7 separate regions of the Homo sapiens genome follow, and regions 2, 3, 4, 5, 6 and 7 are each linked to region 1. The links are contacts of gene promoters, found by promoter capture Hi-C in blood cells and fetal thymus (Javierre and others, 2016). All regions are on one chromosome and are shown on one strand. Each heading gives the region's core, a stretch centred on a gene start or on the middle of the fragment in contact. The rest is flanking DNA. Distances are from core to core; before and after follow the strand shown.

What was found. Contacts are between HindIII fragments. The CHiCAGO score rates a contact against its expected background, and 5 or more counts as called.
Region 2: a contact is called between a fragment that was not itself captured here and the fragment with the promoter of BIRC3 in region 1, in 3 of 17 cell types (M0 macrophages, M1 macrophages and monocytes). The highest score is 7.2, in M0 macrophages.
Region 3: a contact is called between a fragment that was not itself captured here and the fragment with the promoter of BIRC3 in region 1, in 2 of 17 cell types (monocytes and M2 macrophages). The highest score is 6.2, in monocytes.
Region 4: a fragment that was not itself captured here is called in contact with the fragment with the promoter of BIRC3 in region 1 in 2 of 17 cell types (M1 macrophages and M0 macrophages); the score reaches 7.5 in M1 macrophages.
Region 5: a fragment that was not itself captured here is called in contact with the fragment with the promoter of BIRC3 in region 1 in 5 of 17 cell types (M0 macrophages, total CD8 T cells, M1 macrophages and 2 more); the score reaches 10.0 in M0 macrophages.
Region 6: a contact is called between a fragment that was not itself captured here and the fragment with the promoter of BIRC3 in region 1, in 1 of 17 cell types (M0 macrophages). The highest score is 5.8, in M0 macrophages.
Region 7: a contact is called between a fragment that was not itself captured here and the fragment with the promoter of BIRC3 in region 1, in 1 of 17 cell types (total CD4 T cells). The highest score is 5.9, in total CD4 T cells.

What each region holds. Positions count from the first base shown.
Region 1 is chr11:102,315,998-102,318,891 of GRCh38, forward strand. It overlaps BIRC3 (baculoviral IAP repeat containing 3), which reads left to right and starts at 1,487. Exons shown (of 9, transcript NM_001165.5): 1 at 1,487-1,574. It overlaps LOC124902739 (a long non-coding RNA gene), which reads right to left and starts at 1,246. Exons shown (of 2, transcript XR_007062864.1): 1 at 1,089-1,246; 2 at 1-575. RefSeq lists enhancers at 934-2,133, 1,038-1,107, 1,118-1,477, 2,279-2,478, 2,739-2,788. The HindIII fragment of the contact is 7,438 bases long and covers 1-2,894 here.
Region 2 is chr11:102,708,338-102,711,231 of GRCh38, forward strand. No RefSeq gene overlaps it. Among named protein-coding and RNA genes, the nearest start is that of MMP27, 4.0 kb to the left of the region's middle. The HindIII fragment of the contact is 2,285 bases long and covers 381-2,665 here.
Region 3 is chr11:102,677,378-102,680,271 of GRCh38, forward strand. It overlaps MMP20-AS1 (MMP20 antisense RNA 1), which reads left to right. Exons shown (of 5, transcript NR_183620.1): 2 at 326-407. Among named protein-coding and RNA genes, the nearest start is that of MMP27, 27 kb to the right of the region's middle. RefSeq lists an enhancer at 1,890-2,059. The HindIII fragment of the contact is 1,007 bases long and covers 935-1,941 here.
Region 4 is chr11:102,657,814-102,660,707 of GRCh38, forward strand. The region is part of intron 1 of MMP20-AS1 (MMP20 antisense RNA 1); the gene reads left to right. Among named protein-coding and RNA genes, the nearest start is that of MMP20-AS1, 18 kb to the left of the region's middle. The HindIII fragment of the contact is 1,365 bases long and covers 757-2,121 here.
Region 5 is chr11:102,607,816-102,610,709 of GRCh38, forward strand. It overlaps MMP20 (matrix metallopeptidase 20), which reads right to left. Exons shown (of 10, transcript NM_004771.4): 4 at 2,090-2,215; 5 at 1,122-1,283. Among named protein-coding and RNA genes, the nearest start is that of MMP20, 16 kb to the right of the region's middle. The HindIII fragment of the contact is 2,639 bases long and covers 165-2,803 here.
Region 6 is chr11:102,589,365-102,592,258 of GRCh38, forward strand. The region is part of intron 8 of MMP20 (matrix metallopeptidase 20); the gene reads right to left. Among named protein-coding and RNA genes, the nearest start is that of MMP20, 35 kb to the right of the region's middle. The HindIII fragment of the contact is 5,969 bases long and covers 1-2,894 here.
Region 7 is chr11:102,573,051-102,575,944 of GRCh38, forward strand. No RefSeq gene overlaps it. Among named protein-coding and RNA genes, the nearest start is that of MMP7, 44 kb to the left of the region's middle. The HindIII fragment of the contact is 2,345 bases long and covers 246-2,590 here.

The sequences.
Region 1 (2,894 bases), core at 237-2,736:
TTCAATGACAAAAGGCAATGATAAAATATTTTCAGTTATTAAAGATGACCTGATAATTGCTTCATGGATGATCATGTATGTCAAATTACTATGGTATTAGGATCCATCAAATACATTTAAAAGAGTGCTCTATCAATTTTTTCTGAAAATATCTATGTTTACATTTTGTAGATTCTTGACATGTACAAGAGCTTTATGTTTTAATGTTAAGTTAAAAATGGGCAAGGGAATGCAGAGCTTTTCAAAATTCTTCTGGTGAGTACATAATCAAAAATGTGTAAGGCCTGCAAATTATTTTCAATAATCTCAGGAGTGAGTTGAAAATGGCTTAGAAAGTCTTGATTGAAGCAGACTCAAATGTGGATTAAAATCTCCATATGATAAATACACTTAGTCTTTCTGAAATAATTCCAACTGGAACTTCAGCTGCTATGGACAGCCAAGTCCACCTAAACAAGAGGATGCCTCAGCTCAGTCCAATTGCGTGCAGAATGCACTGGATGCTGTTTCCACAGAACGATGAAGTCTCCAATAATCTTTATGGGCTCTGTCTCTGGTTGGTAATTGTCTTTGATCTACTGGAAGATAGAAAATCAGATGAGCTCTCCAAATCCATCTGTTACCCTGGTACGGATGGCTCTCAGATAAAGTTGCTTAAATTTACTGCTTAGAGAACGTTGAGGGAAATATGGCAGTGCAATTAGACTCAAAGATGTCAGGTTTCCCTGAGAATGGCACTGCAACTCAGAAACCTGCCCTGTGAGATCAAAGGCTATAAAGGAGGGATTTTTTTAAGTAGCCAACTCCACCCTACTTATTAAAAAAAAAAAAAAAACAACTCACCAAACCAAACAAAAGTATTTCCATACAGAAAATTTACCAAGCCATTTCAATCTTTAAAATGGTAAAATAAACTGCAAAGGAGAACTGCATGATTTTTTTCACATACCCCTACATTTCCTTTCACCTCTTACTTTCTTGATCAGAACAAAAAGTAAAAATAAATAGAAATATTTCACAAAGTTTCGATTTTTTTTTTTTTAAATGCTGGACTTCTGCAGCTATAGTAGAAGATTGAAAAACCTAACCTTTTTACGTGTAAAGTGTATGGCGGATGGAGGGTGGAGAACAGGGCATATTGACCTTTTCCAGGCAGGCTAAGCAATGATCGTCCTCTCTATATGGGTTGTTATCAAGATTTCCTCTGACCCACGAGCAATGAAGCAAATGTCTTTCAGTAAATGCCGCGAAGATATGCCACGGTTAAGAGTCATGCTTTTGGGTCATGGAAATCCCCGAGTGGGTTTGCCAGGCCACTGATTAAGAGGAAGTGTGTGTGGTTATTACCGCTGGAGTTCCCCTAAGTCCTAAAAGGAAAGCACCAGTGCACATGCAAACCACTGGGAGGAGTGCGGAACGCCTGGTACAGATAGGGGTGGGGATTTGGGTGACGCATTTAAAAGACAGCGTGAGACTCGCGCCCTCCGGCACGGAAAAGGCCAGGCGACAGGTGTCGCTTGAAAAGACTGGGCTTGTCCTTGCTGGTGCATGCGTCGTCGGCCTCTGGGCAGCAGGTGGGCAAGGAAGGCTGGTGTGTGTGTGTGTGTGTGTGCGTGTGTGTGTGTGTATGTGTGCGCGCGCGCGCGCCTCCCCTGGTGTAAGAGATGTGCCAGCGGCTGGCCGAGGGGCGCTTAGGGCTAGAGCCCGGGGCGCTGCAGAGGTTGAGAGTCAGTGGGTGGGGCGCAGTTATCAAACACCAGGGCCCAAAAGCAGGCTCTAGATAGGTTCCAGGTGCTCAATTTCTATTTCACGTTTGGAGTGAGCCAGTGGAATTGTGAAGTTGTGGCATTTTGATTCGGTTGCCAAGAGTTATCACTGGGCCTTTGCAGGTGCCAAATAAATTTCAGGACAGAGCCTAAGGCAGAGCTCTGGCACAGGAAGGAAGTAAAACGTTTAATGAGCAAATGGACGCATGTTTCCAAGCGGTGGTAGGAAGACAGCAGTTTTTGGTTGTCTTCCTGGTGATCAGCATGGAAACCTAGTAGTGCTCTTACTCTGATCAATACATTGTCGAAGGCATGTACCTGATGCTAACGTAACAATAATATTAAATATTGACTTTATTTGCTATTATTTATTGCTAACATTAAGTACTGCTACCTGCTATGTGCTAGGTTTGTCTCTGAAGACTTTACATGTATTTTTCACGTTTAATTATCATAATCTTAAGAAGCAGGTACCATAATTATCTCCATTTGACAATGAGGAAACTGAGGCTCTTGGAGATTTACTTGTGCAAGGTCATGCTTCTGGTTACCGGACTGCTTGGTATTGGGCACCCCCGATGTCTGACTCCAAAGCCTGATACTAATCAATCACTGAGCTGACTCTGTGGTCATTAATATAAAATTGATAGAAGTACTGTGGTCACTCAGGTCTCAGTCATTTACTTCTTCAACGGGAAGTCTTCGTGTCTACCCCATATACCAAGCTCTGCAGATGCTATGAGTGGGAGGGCAGGTACAGAGATGAAACATATTAATAGTTGCCATTCTAAAAGAGCTTACTGTCTAGCGGGAGGCAGAAAGAAAAGGCACACTTGCCCTCCAGTGTCAGAAAAATGGATGTGCTGCATGCCCAAAGGGTAGGGATGCCCAACAGCCCTGGGACTGGGGAGGTTGCCTTCTTGGTAGGTTAAATGAATGAGTCAGAAGAGGAGAGGCTGGGGACTGAGCCAATCTGAGAAGGAACCACTAGAAATGAAAGAAGAATCCCAAGAGCTTGGTATCAGAGAAGCCCAGGGAATGGGACATTTCTAAGAGGAAGTGTGTCCCAGTGTCAGATGCAAACATTTCCATTGGTTTTAGCAAAAAAGCCATTGGTGTTATTAACAC
Region 2 (2,894 bases), core at 273-2,772, 390 kb after region 1:
GTTTTTCTTTTGAAAGGTTTTGGAAATCTTCTCTTTACCTAGATATTTATAAATTTTATAGTTATGCTCTTGATGTAGGTCTTTTGTATTAACATTTTTGGACAGTAAGTGGACCTTTTTTTCATGGAAACTTCAATTTAAGGTAACTTTCCAATATAGTTTTGGTTATAATTTCTTCCTATTCATTTTCTCCTTTTCTACCCATTCATTTTCTCTTCTTTCTTTCCATATCTGTTGGACCTCCTAGATTGAGTCTTTATGCTTCTAATATATCCTATTTTCTACCAACTTAACTTTCCAGCCCACCGATTGTTAATTTCAGCTAAGACATTTAATTTCCAAGAACTCTTTCCAGTTCTGAGTATTCTTTTACATTTTTAAGCTTTTTTTTTGCATTTCATTAGTGTTTTTGGACATAAAATATGTCTTATTTATTTATTTAAATAAATTACTAAATAATTAATAATACATAATTCATAACTAAATAAATAAGAAATTATTAAATAAATAAGACATATTTTACATCCAAAATTATATTCTTATATTTAATTCTTATATTTATTTATTTGTTTGTTTAAATAAACAAAAGAAGGCATACTCTGTCACCCAAGCTCGAATGCGGTGACACAGTCATGACTCACTGCAGCCTCAAACTCCTGGGTTCGAGTGATCCTCCTGCCACAGCCTCCCGAGTAGCTGGGACTATAGTTGCATGCCACCATGCCCAGCTAATATTTTTATTTTTATTTTTTTGTAGGGACAAGGTCTCACTATGTTGCCCAGGCTGGTCTTGAATGCTGAGCCTCAAGCAGTCCTTCTGCCTCAGCCTTCCAAAAGTGTTGGGATTACAGGCACAAACCACTGTACCCAGTCTCTTCTTATTTTTAAAGAATGTTAATGTTAAGTATACTTTAGTTTATTTCGACATTTTCTTTTGCTCCTACAATTGTCTCTAGTTCCTCAAAGTCTCTCCTTTGGTCTCTGTTTTTCACACTGCAATCTTTTCAAAAATATTTGGTGACTTTGTGTTGTGCAATCTGCTTAAGAATGAGAGGCAAGAAAGCAGACTGGAAGCTCTCATGTGTAGAGGCAGGGATGGTGAATTGATGACCTTCACTGCAGGGAGGTGGGGCACTTCCCACACCCTTCATGTGATGTATTAGTCAGGATGAGATTTGGTTGAATGTAACACAAAAACCCAAAATAACAGATGCTTAGTTAAATAAAAATGTATTTTTGCCTCACATTAAAAAAAAGTGCCCAGATTTGGAAGCCTAGGGTTTGTTTGACAGCTCCATATCATCAAGGGTAGGCAACATCTACCTTGCTACACCACTCTGTCAGTACAATGCCTCATGAGTCAGCTGCCTTCTCAACCTCTAGCCATTACATCTGCATTACAGGCAGAAAGAAGGAGGAAGGCAGAGAAAAAGTAATTTTCCAGTCCCTTTCCAGAAGCCCCACACAACATTCTGCTTACACATTTTGGCTAGAAATAAACACATGGCCATATCCAGCTGTAAGCCTAGCTGTAAGCAAGGCTACAAAATATGACGCATTGCTACCTCAAATGAAATTGGAGTCTCACTGCAGAAGAAGTGTAGACTGAAGGTTAAGATAGGTCATTAGCAGCCCTGCCACACTGAGATTTCTCCAGTGTTGGTATCTGTAATTTCTTTTTTTTCTGAGGCTGGTAAGTTACTCCAGAGAAAGCTCATCCAATTTCCCATCATTTAAATCTCCAAGGAACAAAGCTGTAGGAGATTCTTCTGATGTCCTCTGCCACATACCCACAGCATTAATTTAGTTGCACAAGGGGTGGACTGGTTTGTGTAACTCACTTTGCTCTGACAAAGTGCAAAAGTAATTGTGGTTACTTTTGCACCAACCTAATACAACTTTAAGCACAGACTGTGTGTCTTTTTGCTTTCTTCCCAGAGCATTGAGATGCCATCAAGCCTTCCAGGTCAGCATGACAGTACAGCCTGGAAGTGTAAAGAAGTTAACACTCTCAGGGAACATCCTCATCCAATGGGGAATGGAAACTGAAGGATGAATGTTCCAGCCTCCTGCTCACTGGAGATGTGAACGACTGGAAGCTGGTCTGCAGGCTTCTCAGAGGCCCCTGGTGGAATTGAGCTTCAATTGCCCATAGCAGAAACCTTGATAACACATAATTGTATTGGCTTTTCCTCATTCTTTGACTCACTCTTCTTGCTACCTCACTCTTGCTTCCTGGGACTGTGTCCTGAAAATATAATTGCACCAATGTCTTGACTTAGGCTTTGCTTTTGAAGAATCTCAACCTAAGATAAACATGAATCTCATTGTTTAAATTCTAGCTTAGGCAGGGTGGCATGGTGGCTCAAGCCTGTAATCCCAGCGCTTTGGGAGGCCGAGGCAGGAGGATCACTTGAGCCCAGGAGTTTGAGACAAGCCTGGGAAATGTAGTGGGACCCCACCTTTACAAAAGAAAATAACTGAGTGTGGTGGTGTGTGCCTGTAGTCCCAAATACTTGAAAGGCTAAGGTGGGGCATTGCTTGAGGCCAGGGGTTTGAGGCTGCAGTGAGTTGTGATTGCACCACTGTACACCAGCCTGGGTGACAGAGCAAGACCCTGTCTCAAAAATAAATAAATAAACAAAAAATAAATAAATGCATTCTAAGCTTAGGTCTTTATATCTCTTGTGCCCATTCAAAATATCAATGTAATAGCTGGAAAATACTACATGTTGTCAACAAGATAATTTTTTTAAAAGGAATAACTCTGAATTCTTTATTACACTTCATATTACAGTTTACTGTCTATGACTCTGTCAAATGTGGTTAAAAAATAGTATGAGATCAGTCCTCATCTCAAAGATGTATAGATGAGGTTTGAGCCAAGAGTCTAT
Region 3 (2,894 bases), core at 188-2,687, 360 kb after region 1:
GAAGTAATCACAGAATGTCTGGTTCTGTGATCTGTTTGCATTTCTTTCTGGTCATTGGTTTGAATATTTTCTCACTGACCAAGCCTGATGTTTTCATCTAATAACCCTGTGGAGATTTATGGAAACTGACTTGTTGCTATCAAGCTCTAGAAATGTCTTTTTTTTTTTCTTTTAAACCTTCCTTGATAGAATCACCCTCTTTTGTAACCGCCCACTCCAAGCTAAGCCCAGGTAGAATTGGCAGTTGGCTTGTTACTCTTACTTCTCTGGGCTTTTCATAAACAGTGGAATTATATTTACTTTTTCCTCTCTTCCTTTCATGCAGAGCCCAAGGATGAAAACAGAGAAGTAATTAATGGCAGCTTTCCTGGGCCAGAAGAATAAATAAGGAATTATCTTACAAACAGGTGCTTCCCATTCCCCTGACCAGCTACATAGTCATGTCAGGCATCATGATTCGAGACCAGCCTGACCTACATGGTGAAACCCTGTCTCTACTAAAAATACAAAAGTTAGCAGGGCATGGTGGCAACGTGCCTGTAATCCCAGCTACTCAGGAGGTTGAGGCAGGAGAATTGCTTGAACCCGGGAGGTGGAGGTTGCAGTGAGCTGAGATCGTGCCACTGGACTCCAGCCTGGGTGACAGAGTAAGACTCGGTCTCAAAAAAAAAAAAAGAAAAGAAAAATGTTTTTTCTGTCCTTAGATGATTCTTGTAAGCAAATTCTCTTTCCAAGTAGTTTGCCAAATTGATTTAATGAAAGTCCATATGCTTCAAACAGATTCCTAAAGCCTCAGATGCCAGGTGGGTGTTGGCCTTTTCTGGGAAAGATGTTTCACAACTGGCTATAACCTCTCATTCCAGTGTCCCAAACCCTTGGCCCAGCCAAGGGAGGTGACTGTTTTCTTTAGGAACTGAGTGACTGCTTCTGAGGAAGCTTGAGTAAATGTGAGGTTGGCTTCTGTTTGATAAACACGTGGCACTCAATGGGGACTTTTGGACAGAGGAGACTGCATGGGTGACAGCTGGTGGCCTTCACCAAATCCTGAAGTTAAATTTAGGGAATCAGACCCAAGAACACTAAAAGGATTAGGGGCTCTCCACCTGTCTTCCTTGGTCTTGCTCTCTATGCTCTCAGGTCTTCACTGTTGTAGCCACAGTGGTGTTAGAAGGACGAAAATGCTAGGGTAGGGATGGGGCAGGGGTAGTGTGAACTATAGTGGTTTTCAAAATGGGCAACATCAATATAACCTGGGAGCTTGTTAGAAATGCACATTCTCAGGTCTGCTGAAGACCGACTGAATCAGGAAATCTAGGGGTGGGGCCCAAGACCTCCAGGTAATTTTGATGCATGCTAACATATGTGAACCAGCATTTTAGAAAGTTTATGCTACTTAAAGAAAGTCTGTGAAGCAACACCCCCTGGGAACTTGTTAGAAATGCAGAATCTCAGGCCCCACCCTTCTGAGATTCAGGTTTCATTGGTCTAGGGTGGAGGAGCCCAGTTATTGGTCATTTAAAAAACCTCCCGTGTGATTCTAACTTTGCATCCAGAATAGAGAATTACTGCTCTAAGGAAGAAATTGTTAAATGCATTTTATGTTTTCCAGGAGAAAAGATGGTCCCTTCCACAGAGACAGTAAAAGATATGAATGATTTTTCTTTGTAGATTCACTGGAGTTCCACTAGAATAGTGCAGTTATCACATCTTCCTCCAAAGAGGGGTAGGTTTCAGAGTTTCAGCAGTAGAAGAAATCTGGGAGGAATCAAGCCAGTGTGCAACATCAACATCAGTTATATTAGGCTGTTCTTGCATTGCTATAAAGATATATGAGACAGGGTACTTTTTATAAAGAAAAGAGGTTTAATTGGCTCACGGTTCTGCAGGCTTTACAAGAAGCATAGTGCTGGCATCTGCTCAGTTTCCACGGAGGCCTCAGGAAGCTTACAAGCATGGCAGAAGGCAAAGGGGGAGCAGGGACGTCACATGGCCAGAGAAGGAGCAAGAGAGAGAGTAGGAGGAGGGTGGCGGGGTGAGGTGCCACACACTTTTAAACAACCAGATCTTGCACTAACTCAGTATCACGAAGACAGCACCAAAGTATAAGGATCCGCCCCCATGATCCAAACACCTCCCACCAGGCCCCACCTCAAGCACCGTGGATTACAATTCAACATGAGATTTGGACGTGGGTAAATATCCAAACTATATCATCAGTCAGTGCTCCTTTCAATTGCCTCAGGGGAATGCAAGAAAGAGCTAAGAGGAAGTTACTACCAGTGTGATGAGAAAGCTGTGAAGTACTGAAATATGGAATAAGAAAAGGAGGGCCCAGCAGTCCAAATTCAAGTCCAACCCAGCCCTGGGTCAATACCTGCAATCAAGGGCTCTACCTAAATGTTGGGGACGGGGTTAGCCAGTAGGAGAAAGGCCCAGCCTGGGGGAGCAGAAGGCAGTCCTTCCAGGCAAGCTTCAGAACTGGCCCAGCCAGCTGTGTGCCAGTCAGCACTTGGCTGCAGCCACCATAGGACACTGAAAAGAAACTGTCTTGGGCATTCAGGCTAATCAAACTGACTGTGTATATATGATATCCTGAGGAAGCTGCAGCTCTGTGATTGTATTAACGTCTGCTCCCATTAAGACCTGCTTCCAGTGTCTTATATTCTTTGGAGTGACTGGCTGTTACATCTTTGTTAAATTTTAAATTTACTCAGTGTTCCTCTTCTTTGGCTTGTGTAAGACAATAAGCTGGATTTTAATATTCTCCAAACCACCACTGGTGCTTTAGGCGTGGGTCTCATGGAATAAATGCAGGGGACGTGAAAGCTTGAACAAGATCATGGAAGTATGACCGTGAGATTTTTTATCTCAATCTCACATATATTCTTTTAGTT
Region 4 (2,894 bases), core at 189-2,688, 340 kb after region 1:
CACTAACTATGCTTGTAATCAGTAGCAATGATAAATAAAGCAATCACTAACTATGCCTGTAAGTAGCTGGTATTCTGCTACTTGTGAGGCTGAGGCAGGAGAATCACTTGAATCCGGGAGGCGGAGGTTGTGGTGAGCTGAGATCACGCCATTGCACTCCAGCCTGGGCAACAAGAGCGAAACTCCATCTCAAAAAAAAAAAAAAAAAGAAAAGAAAAAGAAATACCAGAAAACTGTATGTGAATGGGAATGTAATAATAATAAACTATTTGACTTGGAAATAAACAATATTTACATAATAAAAATATAAACACTGTGATATAAGAGGAAGTGTAGGGAAGAAAGGAGGTGGAGGGTTGGTGGGAATGTAATAGAGCTAATATTAACAGAAGTCACTAGATAATGTATAAGATACATTAATTAGGAAATAAATGCACAAGCACATTATTTAGAGAAATGAAGTTGAATACCAGAAGACATAATTCATTATGTTTGCAGTAGTTATCTCTCGTTGTCAGACTGAGGCATAGTAAAAGACAGCTTTAAGTATTTTATTACTATTTGATTTAATTATTAAGGAAAATTGTAAATTGATTTGCATCACATGCACTGTTAACTTGAAGCCAACTGTAAAATGAAGCCAACTGTATGTATTGGTCATAAAGAGTGAAAACTATATTTATTTGTCCCATTGTACAAGCCTATTCCAGCTTCAATTCCTTCCGTCCTCCCTCTTTTCCTTTCCATTAAAACAGAAGCTTCCCTTGCCCTAGGTAAAGGGAGGTATCAATTGAAAGACAAAGAGTGATTAAAGTCATGTATTATTTGCTTTGGAGCTTCCAAGTCTGCAGGTCTTGATAATTTAGAGATTATTAATAAATAATTTTACCTGACTTGAGTATCACATTACTCATCAATTTTGCAACCTAATCCCAAATTATATTGTGAATTATTGAAACAAAAGATAATACATCTTTATCCTTATAATAATAGTTATATATTATTGAACGCTTGCCCCATGCTAGATCTGTTCTAGGTATTTTATGTATTTCATCTAATTTATTCCTCATAGAAACCCTATCAAGTAGGGCTATCATTAATCTCATATTTAGTGGAAACTGATACTCCATATTGTCCTTGGATTGTGGCTGGAAATATTCTCTGTTCTCTTTTGCTGATATCCAGTAACTTGAGATCATGCACTTAGATATACTTGAAAAGAGCGTATACACCCTACAAGTCTTATGATTGCCATTTTCTGTTCATGAAACCTTTTTCTGCAACATTCAGTGGTGCAGCTGCAGATCAGGGAGCCGGGGTGTAGGCAGAACGTCTTTCTGTAAGTTCCCGCTGGGCTCAAGCTCTAACTCATTTCGATTATGCTACAATAACTGGCATTAATGCTGTATTTCTTTGTCCCTTCTGAACCCATGGCTGCAGGATATTTTTTACAATGTGGCATTCGAGACAGCAGCTCCTCATCAAATGGAGTTGTCTCAATCTGTTTGCCTTCCTTGATGTATGAGGCCCTTATTAAATGTAATCCTTAGTTCTAAACAATAGTATTCTGGTGAGGTTTGGCTTTCTCCCACTCCCAGATAACTATACAGATTACAAAGTGCTTTCACATGTATTGTTTTATTTTATCAGTGTAGCAATTCTCTGGGCTACATTTATGCAGTATTTATTACATGCCAGGCCGTCTAAATTATGTAACCCCCCAATCATTCAAGGTGGACGTTGTTATACCCATTCTATTGATGGGAAAACAGGCTCAGAGAAGTGAAATGGCTTGCGAAGACAACCAGATGGTAAAGGACAGAACTTGGACTAAAACTTGGACTTCTAAAGCAAGTTCTCAGTTTCTTTCAAACACTGTAGATGCCCTTAGGTTTCCAACCATTGAAGTAAATTCCACTCCTTTAGCCAGTTGCCTGGTGGAATATTGTTGTTCAGCAGGAGTTTCACCCATCTTCGTGTGTGTGTGTGCGTGTGTGTGTGTTTGTGTGTGTGTGTGTGTGCAACATCTACTTCTTTTAGGACCTTGAAATGGACCTATTCAGCTGGCCAACCACGAAATCTAATGCCTTATAAGCACAATTATTTGTCTTATGAGACCTAAGCTTTCTACCTCTTGGAAAGACCTGTATATATATGTCATTGGAAAATAAATTCCCAACACTGCTGTTTCTTAACCTGTGTAATGATTCTGCTGACAGCTGCTGAGTGAGTATAACTAAAGGGTATATAGATACCAAACCTTACATTAACAAAGAATCAAGGTGAATACATGTGCAGACAACCTTTCTTAAATTTCTTGGACCCCATCTTTGCCTAGTATATCTGAAGCATTTGGATCCTTACTTGAAAGGTGTGTTTTAAAATGAAAACATGGTTATTATGTTTAATTTTCTGTCTCTCTCACCTCTAGGTTTTCTAGTCAAAGTAGATTTCAGGCACTTCTTCTGTTAAGATTGTAATTCTCCATTCTTTTTTTCTTTCATATATTTTTTTCTGCAAGTAGAACCTATCACACTATCTTATAGCTGTTTTTTTCTTTAAAATAAAAATTTATAAGACAGGCACATAAATATTAGAAGCAGTTATCTTGCGGTAGGAGTGCAGGGATTATGCATAGGTATTGTTCTTTTCTCTCTGTACTTTTTTTGTGTTTTGTAATTAGAAAAAAGTTACATAAAAATGTACTTTAGTAATCTCTCTAAGGCCATACTTTATTATTTGTTTATTTTTTTTTTTTTGAGACGGAGTCTTGCTCTGTCCCCCAGGCTGGAGTGCAGTGGCGCGATCTCAGCTCACTGCAAGCTCCGCCTCCCAGGTTCACACCATTCTCCTGCCTCAGCCTCCTGAGTAGCTGGGACTACAGGCGCCTGCCA
Region 5 (2,894 bases), core at 234-2,733, 290 kb after region 1:
CCCTTCTCGGTGGCCCACAGGAATCGCTTCCCATTGGAACACTGCCACCAAGGCTCTGGAGCTGAGTTTGTGACATGGAGACATTCATGGCATTTTTCCTGTCCCTCAAGGGTCAGGCAGATCTGGTGCTTTCCCCCTCCTGGAAATGGATAGAGCTGGCTGAAAGCTTCTTGGGATGAAATTTGTCTTTTGTGCCTCAGGTGAAATCTGACTGATTTTGAATGGTGTGCCCATTTCTGGGCTTCCCACCCTCCAGATCCCCTGGGGCCAGATTCCTAGCACCCCAGGAAGCTGTTGGGGGATCTGGGTCTCTAGGCACTGAGAAGATGGGGAGAAGCTCTGATAATCAGAAGCCTAATAACCAGGTCTCCAGGGCTCAAAGGAAAAGCAATTTCCTAGATCTTTTTGCCTTTTATCCATTAAAGAAAAATTGTCAAGGTCTAAGGATGTTTCAAGATTCCTTCTGATGGATTAATTGGTTTGTTTTTCCCTTAAGGAAAATTGGATACAGAGTTTCTAATAATCCCTTATTACCTTTTGGAAGAATATTAATACTTGAGGTAACTTATCTTAGGATATCTTAGGATACTTACTGTCTTCAAACCTCAGCTTTCTCAGCTATCAAATGAGGAAAACACTTCACACCCCACAGGTTGGTTGTGAGGCTGGTGTAAGACTACACACATGAACCTGTTTTGTAAACTGCAGATTGGCTACATGACTGGGTGCAGAGTTATTTTAATCATGATTGCTATTTTTAGGGAGATAAGGTCACTTATCTGCAAATGGGTAAGCACCACATATATGAACTATAAACTATATCCATCCTCTCCCAATGTGTAAATTCTAACCTGCACTCAAAGGAAAAACATAAACCGACAAATGACTATATTTTCTAAGGCTATCCAGGACTAATATGCTGTAAAGGAAAGATGCAAAATTTAATCACACATCACACACATATTTATAACTAGCAAATCAGCTCTTCACAAGAAGGCATAGTTGGGGTTATGGTTTCTAGATTGATCTTTACCAATGCAGATAAAATGCACTTTCTTTAATTCGGAGACTGAATGCCTGCCAATTTCAGGGTGAGTCATCAAAGAAGGTAATAATCTTACCGTATAATGCCTGGATCCCTTTCACATCATCTTTGGGGAGGTGGAATCCATAGGGATTCTTGTACTTATAAGTTGGGTACATCAGTGCTGATGGGTCTGTGGAATGGGCCAGGCCCAGGGCATGGCCAAATTCATGAGCAGCAACGGTAAACAAATTAAAACCTAGACAATATGAGAGAGAAAAAAACAGTATCAACACAGGTTTTTGTTTTCTCCATCTTCCATCTTTATAGTATAATTTATGCCCACATTACAGTTAACCCATCTCCTTCTCCTAACTGGATTATTCAAAGGTTGGTAGGTTATTCTGGCACTTAGCTTTGGTGACTTTAATTCTTCCCCCCTTGGCTAGAAGGGGGTTGGGGGTGGGGGAGGACAGAAATGCACATCAATCCATTTTATTCATCATCAGTGATGTTTGGTAGACTGATAAAGCAGAGCCTTGGAACAAATAGTGGCAATGCTATTTGGCAATAATTCATAAATTTAGACCACAAATGCCTTAATAGTTCCCTGCTATTACAGCCTACACCTTTTGATCCACACGTTTCACACTGAAGATTTCCAGATGACCTGTATGATATTCTGGAAACTTTATTCCCATCCCCAACACACTTCTCAGGACAGTACTGATTCTCTTGGGTCATTTCTGAATGTAGCCCATTTCCAAGAATAAGTAAGAAATCATAAATACTAGGTTGTTGAAGGAAACGAGAGCAGTGCGTTGAGAAGGGGATGACTGGTTCTTCAGATGATATGCTATGAAACAGATCAGACAAGTCTACAACACAATTTGGGGTGGATTTTTTTCCCTTATGTGATCCCTTTTGGATTTTTGGCTTACTTGTTTTTCCTAGCCAGCCCCCCTAGTTAAAGGGTGGCTTGGGACGTTGAACCTCAAGGTTTCATGATGGAGCCCAGAAGAAGGTACAATATTTTCCAGGTTATGGTGAATTGTGCATATATACCATTCGTTCCCATAGTCCACTTCTCAGCATTGTCGAAATGTGTATCTCCTCCCAGGCCTTCTCCAGGAGCAAATGCATGGGCTAGAGTCCCCCGAGGCCCATCGAATGGATAGGAATCCCCGTGATCTAAACAAGTGGGGAGAAAGGCCAACAAGATTGAGTCCTTCTAGAAATTCTGAGGGGCGCATCATATTACAGAAAAGGGACATTTTGAGTAGCATTGACACTTAAATTCACTTTTCAGTATTTATTTGTTATAATGGGAAGTTCATTTGTCAATGAGTAACAGCCCATTGAAAAATAAAAAAGGCTAATTCATACTGCAAAGATAGTAAGCATTAGCAATAAAAAAACACCTGTTTTGGGTTATTGTTGCTATCATGACATCTGTTAACTGACACATAGGATACTGTGGACTTTGCATGTGCCACAGATTACAAAAGGAGAACGACTGGGGCGGGGCGGGGCGGCGGGGGGGCGGCATTCGATAGCAAAACCTACCCCACTGATTGGAATGTGAACCTGTTAGCAGAATGACCTTTCAAATTTGATTCAGCTGAGACAGTGATAGTGAATTGAACAAGTGTGTGCTTTCTGTTTCTATAGCACAATACAGTTTAAGGAAGTGTCAAAAATCTCTCTGTAATTTTGACATACTTTCATGTGGAAAACATATGAAAGTCATAAAGGTGTTTATAAAATCCTAACTTTTAAAGCTTTTTAAGTTTTTGTTTAATTATCTATTTTAACTAACAATTCATTACAAATTTAATAGAAGAGGAGGAGGAAGAACAAAATAAGGGAT
Region 6 (2,894 bases), core at 135-2,634, 270 kb after region 1:
TTTGTTTTGACCCACTGATCTTCATGAAGTCTTGTATCAGAGCACTTTTGGCACTTGGATTTCTGTTAGTTATTTATCTATATATTTACCCTCAACTGTAAGATCTGTTGAGGGCATTAATAACACCCAACATGAGCTGAATGCTTATTATGTGACAGGCATTTCACATTTTTCCCTTTCAATGCCATAATTCTAGGAAGTGTATACTATTTCTACCCCCATTTTGCAGATGATGAAACAGACAGAAAGGTGATCCAAATTGTCAGATAATTGTTGGTAGAGTTAAGATTAACACTAGGACTTTTTACTTCTGCCCATTCTTAACCAGCAAACTCTACACCTTCTCTTGAATGTCACTAGTACACAGGCTGACACATAATATGTCTAATAAATGTAGGTTGAATGTGGTAGTTTAGTCATAAGTTTTTTAAAATTTAAAACATGAAAAAACAAGATTTTTGAACCCTATTTCATCTTATTTTTATTACTTATTATTTATTTATTTATGGTGACTATAAAATCCTCAAATAAAAACATCTATTTCTAGTATTTCTGAGGCATTCAGGAAGAAGAGAATGTGGAAGACGTATTCTACTTTGCAGCAATGATGCCCCGAGTCTGACTGTACAGAAAGAGTGATTCAGGGTAGAGGGGCAATATGATTGAAAAGGGGTAGGATCTGCAGATTTGCAAGTCACTTTGCATAAAATTCAGAAATCATTGACTATCTTGAAGAATTATGGAGGTGGTGACACCCCCTGCTGCCAGAAATCCCTTGATGTAGCCACTGCTCTGCTACTGGTAGGCAAGGAAGAATATGTAAAAGGAGAAATCAGCCATAGGTAGTGGAAATAATGTAAAAAATGAAAAACTGATGGAACCATTAGGGCCTGCTAGAAAGAGAATAGGAAGGAATAAAAGTAAGGGGAAGTGGTTCTAGTTGGCAAAGTTTAACCAATATGTCATTTGCTGATGTAGCATGTAACGGCATCAACATAGTAGAGCCTCCTATTTGGATTTGACATTGTGGTCCTCTGTGCGCTGCTCCCCTATAAGTAACTACCACACAGAGACATGGGTCCTCCCTTTTAGAGCCTAATCCAACCTGGCCCCAAGCCAACCTTCAATCCTCTGTGGAGGAAGTTCCTCGGTCATTTCCTCATGGCATTTCATTCACTAAAACTGGGTCCAAACTCTGGGAGTTCTTGCAGAATTTCCAGAGACTTTTCTTCCCTTGGCACATTACTTACGTCACAGACTGAACTAGCATGAGGAGCAAGGAAGAACTTGAGAAATGTCTAAGACAAATAAAACCTAACACACTTTCAGTGGATGTCAATGTAGTGAAATTCTTATTCCATAACTTGAGGCTTGGGACCTTCCATATTTTTGAGTATGGCCATGTGCTTACCTACAAAACTTCATTTATCTCCTTTGTCCTTTCTTCTCAGTTCCATCCTTCTACAGTAGGGACATAATGACTAAAGCTCCCCTGGCCACCTCGAGTCATGAGGCAACCACGAGAATGCAAGTATGTGTTAAGAATAGCAGAGCAAAATGTTTAAGGGAACTTGGGTCCCTGTTGATCACCAGCCTGCCATACTGGCTCTAAACTGTCAGACTTTTTACACATATGAGAAAAACAAACCCTCATGTGTTTAAGCCACAATTATTTTGGGGTCTCTGATACTAGTGGCTAAATTAAATTTCAAACCAATAGAAGGCTTCATATGACAATAAGATGTCACACATATGAGGCCCTGTAAAGCACACTGTGCAGAATTCAGGGGTGTTTATGAATAGGGCCAGTACAATAGGTTTCTCTAAACTTTTGAGCTATAGGTGAGGGTTGTCTTACTCCTTGTTGCATACACCAGTGTATGTGTTGGAGTGCGTAAAGTAGAAGACTGCCATTGCTGAAGGGATTGTCTATGTTTTGCCAAAAGCAGCAATTTCAGTCCAATGTTAGGGGCCTTCAGTATTTAAAAAGGAAATTCCCTTTGACCAGATTTTTGACTGAATCGCCGCTCAGAGAAATATTGAGGTTTAAGCAATTTGTTATGCATCACAACTTGTTAAGAAATTATTTGTTAGTTACCATATAAGTTCTGTTGCTGAAGAATAACTCTTTTTGAGCACCTGCTCTATGCAGACCTTGCTAGGTATCTGTGTCTGCATGCATTACATCACTTAATACCCTCTGTAACCTGAGAAGGTTAGAAGTGCCTACGATGGTTTCCTTCCTTAACCAGAAAAATGAGCTTGTTAACATTTTAGTTAATGCCCTAGACCAACTTTTCGGTGAATCTATTTATCTAGATTACAAAAGACTTCTCCTTAGTAGACACTCACAGAGGCCCAGTTGGAAAGGTACAGTACGATTTTCTCTGGGGGCAAAGAGCATCACTAAAATCAGAGAGCCTTGACCTCCCCATCCTAAAACTTACAGAGAATTTTGAACCTCTGCCCACATCTCTTAACTTAGCTGTTAAGTTTCAATCCAGCCTGGCTGAAGGTATATGCTTTACTGCAGGTGCTGGTGGGTGGTAGATTAGACCAAAGATCAGGTGATAAATGGGCAAGAGAGACAATGGGAGAGTGGATAATTCCCCCATTGAGAATCACACTGTGAATACCCTTTAAAACATTAACTGAATAATCCTAACATAAACGCCCTCATACTCCAACAGACGTGCTTACACATGCATCTCTTGATTTTATTCTCTGAAAATTCACCAGGGGAATTGGATTTCTCAATACCTATCTTCCTGTATATCTGCTGTGTGACTACAGCCACCTTATCTTAAAGAAAGACTTTAGAGAATCATACTCTGTCTTGCAGATATTAGGGCCTTAATAAGTGAATTCCTGTCATCATGTTTTAAAAAGGAAGG
Region 7 (2,894 bases), core at 168-2,667, 260 kb after region 1:
CTCCCTCCCATGTTTTCTCTTCTCATCTCTCCTCAAACTCTTGTCAGAACAACATGCTGCATTGTGCAACAAAAGTTTACTTTCATCTCCAAACATGTTAAATGATACATTAGATTAAAGGAAAGAATGTTAAGACTAATGGAGAAGACATTAAAATGAAGAGATGTTGCATTAAAAAAAAAAAGAGTCCTATTTTGGATCCCAAAGCCATTCACTAATTTCCCATTGTAATTTATTTACCAGCAAGCTTCCCAATTCTGCTTCTAGTTCAATTCCAAGGGTCTAGGTGTTGGGAGCAAACCTGAAATTATGACATTTTGAGTATAACAGGATACCTTTTAAACTGATCATGTTGACAAGCCACGTAGGGATTGGAATGAGACCAAAGACAGGAGACTTGGCAGATGACAGATGATCAGAAGATGCTGTTTCTACTTTTTACCCAGACCTACTGGGGAGAAATGCCGACGATCTTTTGGCTTGGACTCTTCTAAGCTCCATTATGGTAGTCTAAAACACCAACCTATTGGCCAGCAGTATGCATTTCCTCTCAAATGGCACTTCATTGGGTAATTTTAGCTATGAATATTCACAAAGAACCTTCAATATCATTGTCTGTAGAAGAAAAATAACTAACAGGAATAAAGAAAAACATCTGGATAATATATAAATAAAAGCACCCTGAAGACCCTGTGAGCATTTAAAAATATTATACACAGAATTCTGAATGAAAAACTGCATAGTTTTTTTGCCATTTGCTTTGTGAAATGGACATCTAAGGTGTTTTGCAATAAACATTTGAAAAGAAACAGAAGACCCAAAGGCAAACTTAGGTCTTTCATTTAGGACTAGGCTAAATGGAAGAGGGCTTGGTTTATACCAGAGAAAATTTAATATGGAGCTGTTAGGAAAGCTCCCCAAGGAGGTGAATCCATTCATCCTTAGTAGCCTGTGTAGTGCTTTCAAAGGTTCAGCCCACAAAGAGTCATCACTGAGATTAATAGGATAATGCATAGAATTCATCAGGAAGTGAACTCTGTTTTGCTACCTCGTGATCCTCAAGGGAGTACTTCAACCACACTTTGTCCAAAACTGTTATTTAATAAGTCATGTTTGCACTCAGTTACTCTGAAGTCAAATGAGTAGTTTATGTTATAAATTATTTCTGCACAACGTTCTTGTATCATATGAGGATAAGTGCTCTGTGTTATGACACAATCACACCTTCTTGTGCTTTAGAGAGACTGTATTTTTCCAAAATACATACTAATTTTATATCTGAGAGCAAAGAGCTTTCTTCTTAAGACAGGGTCTTGCTCTGTCACCCAGGCTGGTGCAGTGGCACAATCTCAGCTCACTGCAACCTCTGACCCCTGGGCTCAAGTGGTCCTCCCACCTCAGCCTTCCAAGTAGCTGGGACCACAGGCATGCGCCACCATGCCTAGCTAATTTTTTGTATTTTTAGTAGAGACAGGGTCTCACCATCTTTCCCAGGCTGGTCTCAAACTCCTGAGCTCAAGTGATCCATCCACCTTGGCCTCCCAAAGTGTTAGGACTACAGGTGTAAGCCCCTATGCCTGGCCTAAAAGCCAAGAATTCTTTAACTCAACAAAAAATAATGATTTATAAGAATTATTTTTTGGAGATGGGGGATAAACATAGTATTTTTAATTATTTGATTTAATTTGACATTTGGAAGAGAAAAATTTCAGGTCATTGATTATCAATTCTTGTGATATTATAGCTCATCAGATGTTTAGCTATCTCAAGGGACATATACAAATTCTCCAAAATATCACCAAACAAAATGAACTCTAATGGCTTCAAAAACAACAATTATAGAGCCCCTGTAGAGTGCCAGGGACTACTTTGCATATTTTGACTCATATATTTAAGGCTCTAAATATCCTTAGGAGATAAAAACTGCCATTATTCCAATTTTATAAAGGAAGACACTGAGACAGAGAATGAGGATGAGGGAATTTGGTCAACATCACACAGTTGAAAATAGAAGATCTGGAGTTTGAATCCATCAGTCAGACCTGAGAGCATATGCTTTATTGCTTTCAGTGAATTCATTGACTAGTGAAGTGTCTTCTGTATGCACGATTCTGGGCTAGTGCTGGACATGAGGAGGACATCTGGCTGGTTGCGTGCAGCACTGGATGTCCTCAGGCTGGTGCTTCATTGTCATGTGGTCCCTGACACAGTTGCCAGAATGCATGACCTCCATGGATCATCACACTACTTTGATCTCCTTCTTTTTTTTAATGTAACAGCTTTATCAAGATATAGTTAACATAACATATAATTCACTCATGTAAAGTGTACAATTTAATGGCTTTTAATATATTCACAGAGTTGTGCAACCATCACCATCATCAGTTTTAGAACATTTTCATTATCCCAAAAAAAAGAACCCCATACCCATTAGTAGTCACTCCTTATAACCCCCTCCCCCAACTACTGACAAGCACTGGTCCGCTTTATGTCTCCATAGATTTTTTTATTGTGAACATTTCATATAAATAGAATCATACAATATGTGACCTTTTCTGTCTGGCTTCTTTCATTTAGCATGATGTTTTCAAGCTTCATCCATGTTACAGCATGTGTTAGGACTTCATTTCTGCTTATTGTCGAATAACATTCTGTTGTCTGAATTTGCCACATTTTACGTATTCATTCATTACTCAATGGACATTTTTCCACTCTTTGGCTATTATAAATAACGATGCTATGAACATTTATGTGCAAGTTTTTTGTGTAGACATGTTTTAATTTCTCATAGGTATATACTTAGGAGTGAAATTGCTGTGTCATAGGGTAAGTCTACGTTAAATATTTTAAGAAATTGCCAGCCTGTTTTTCTCCTTGCTTATTGATAGTAAGAA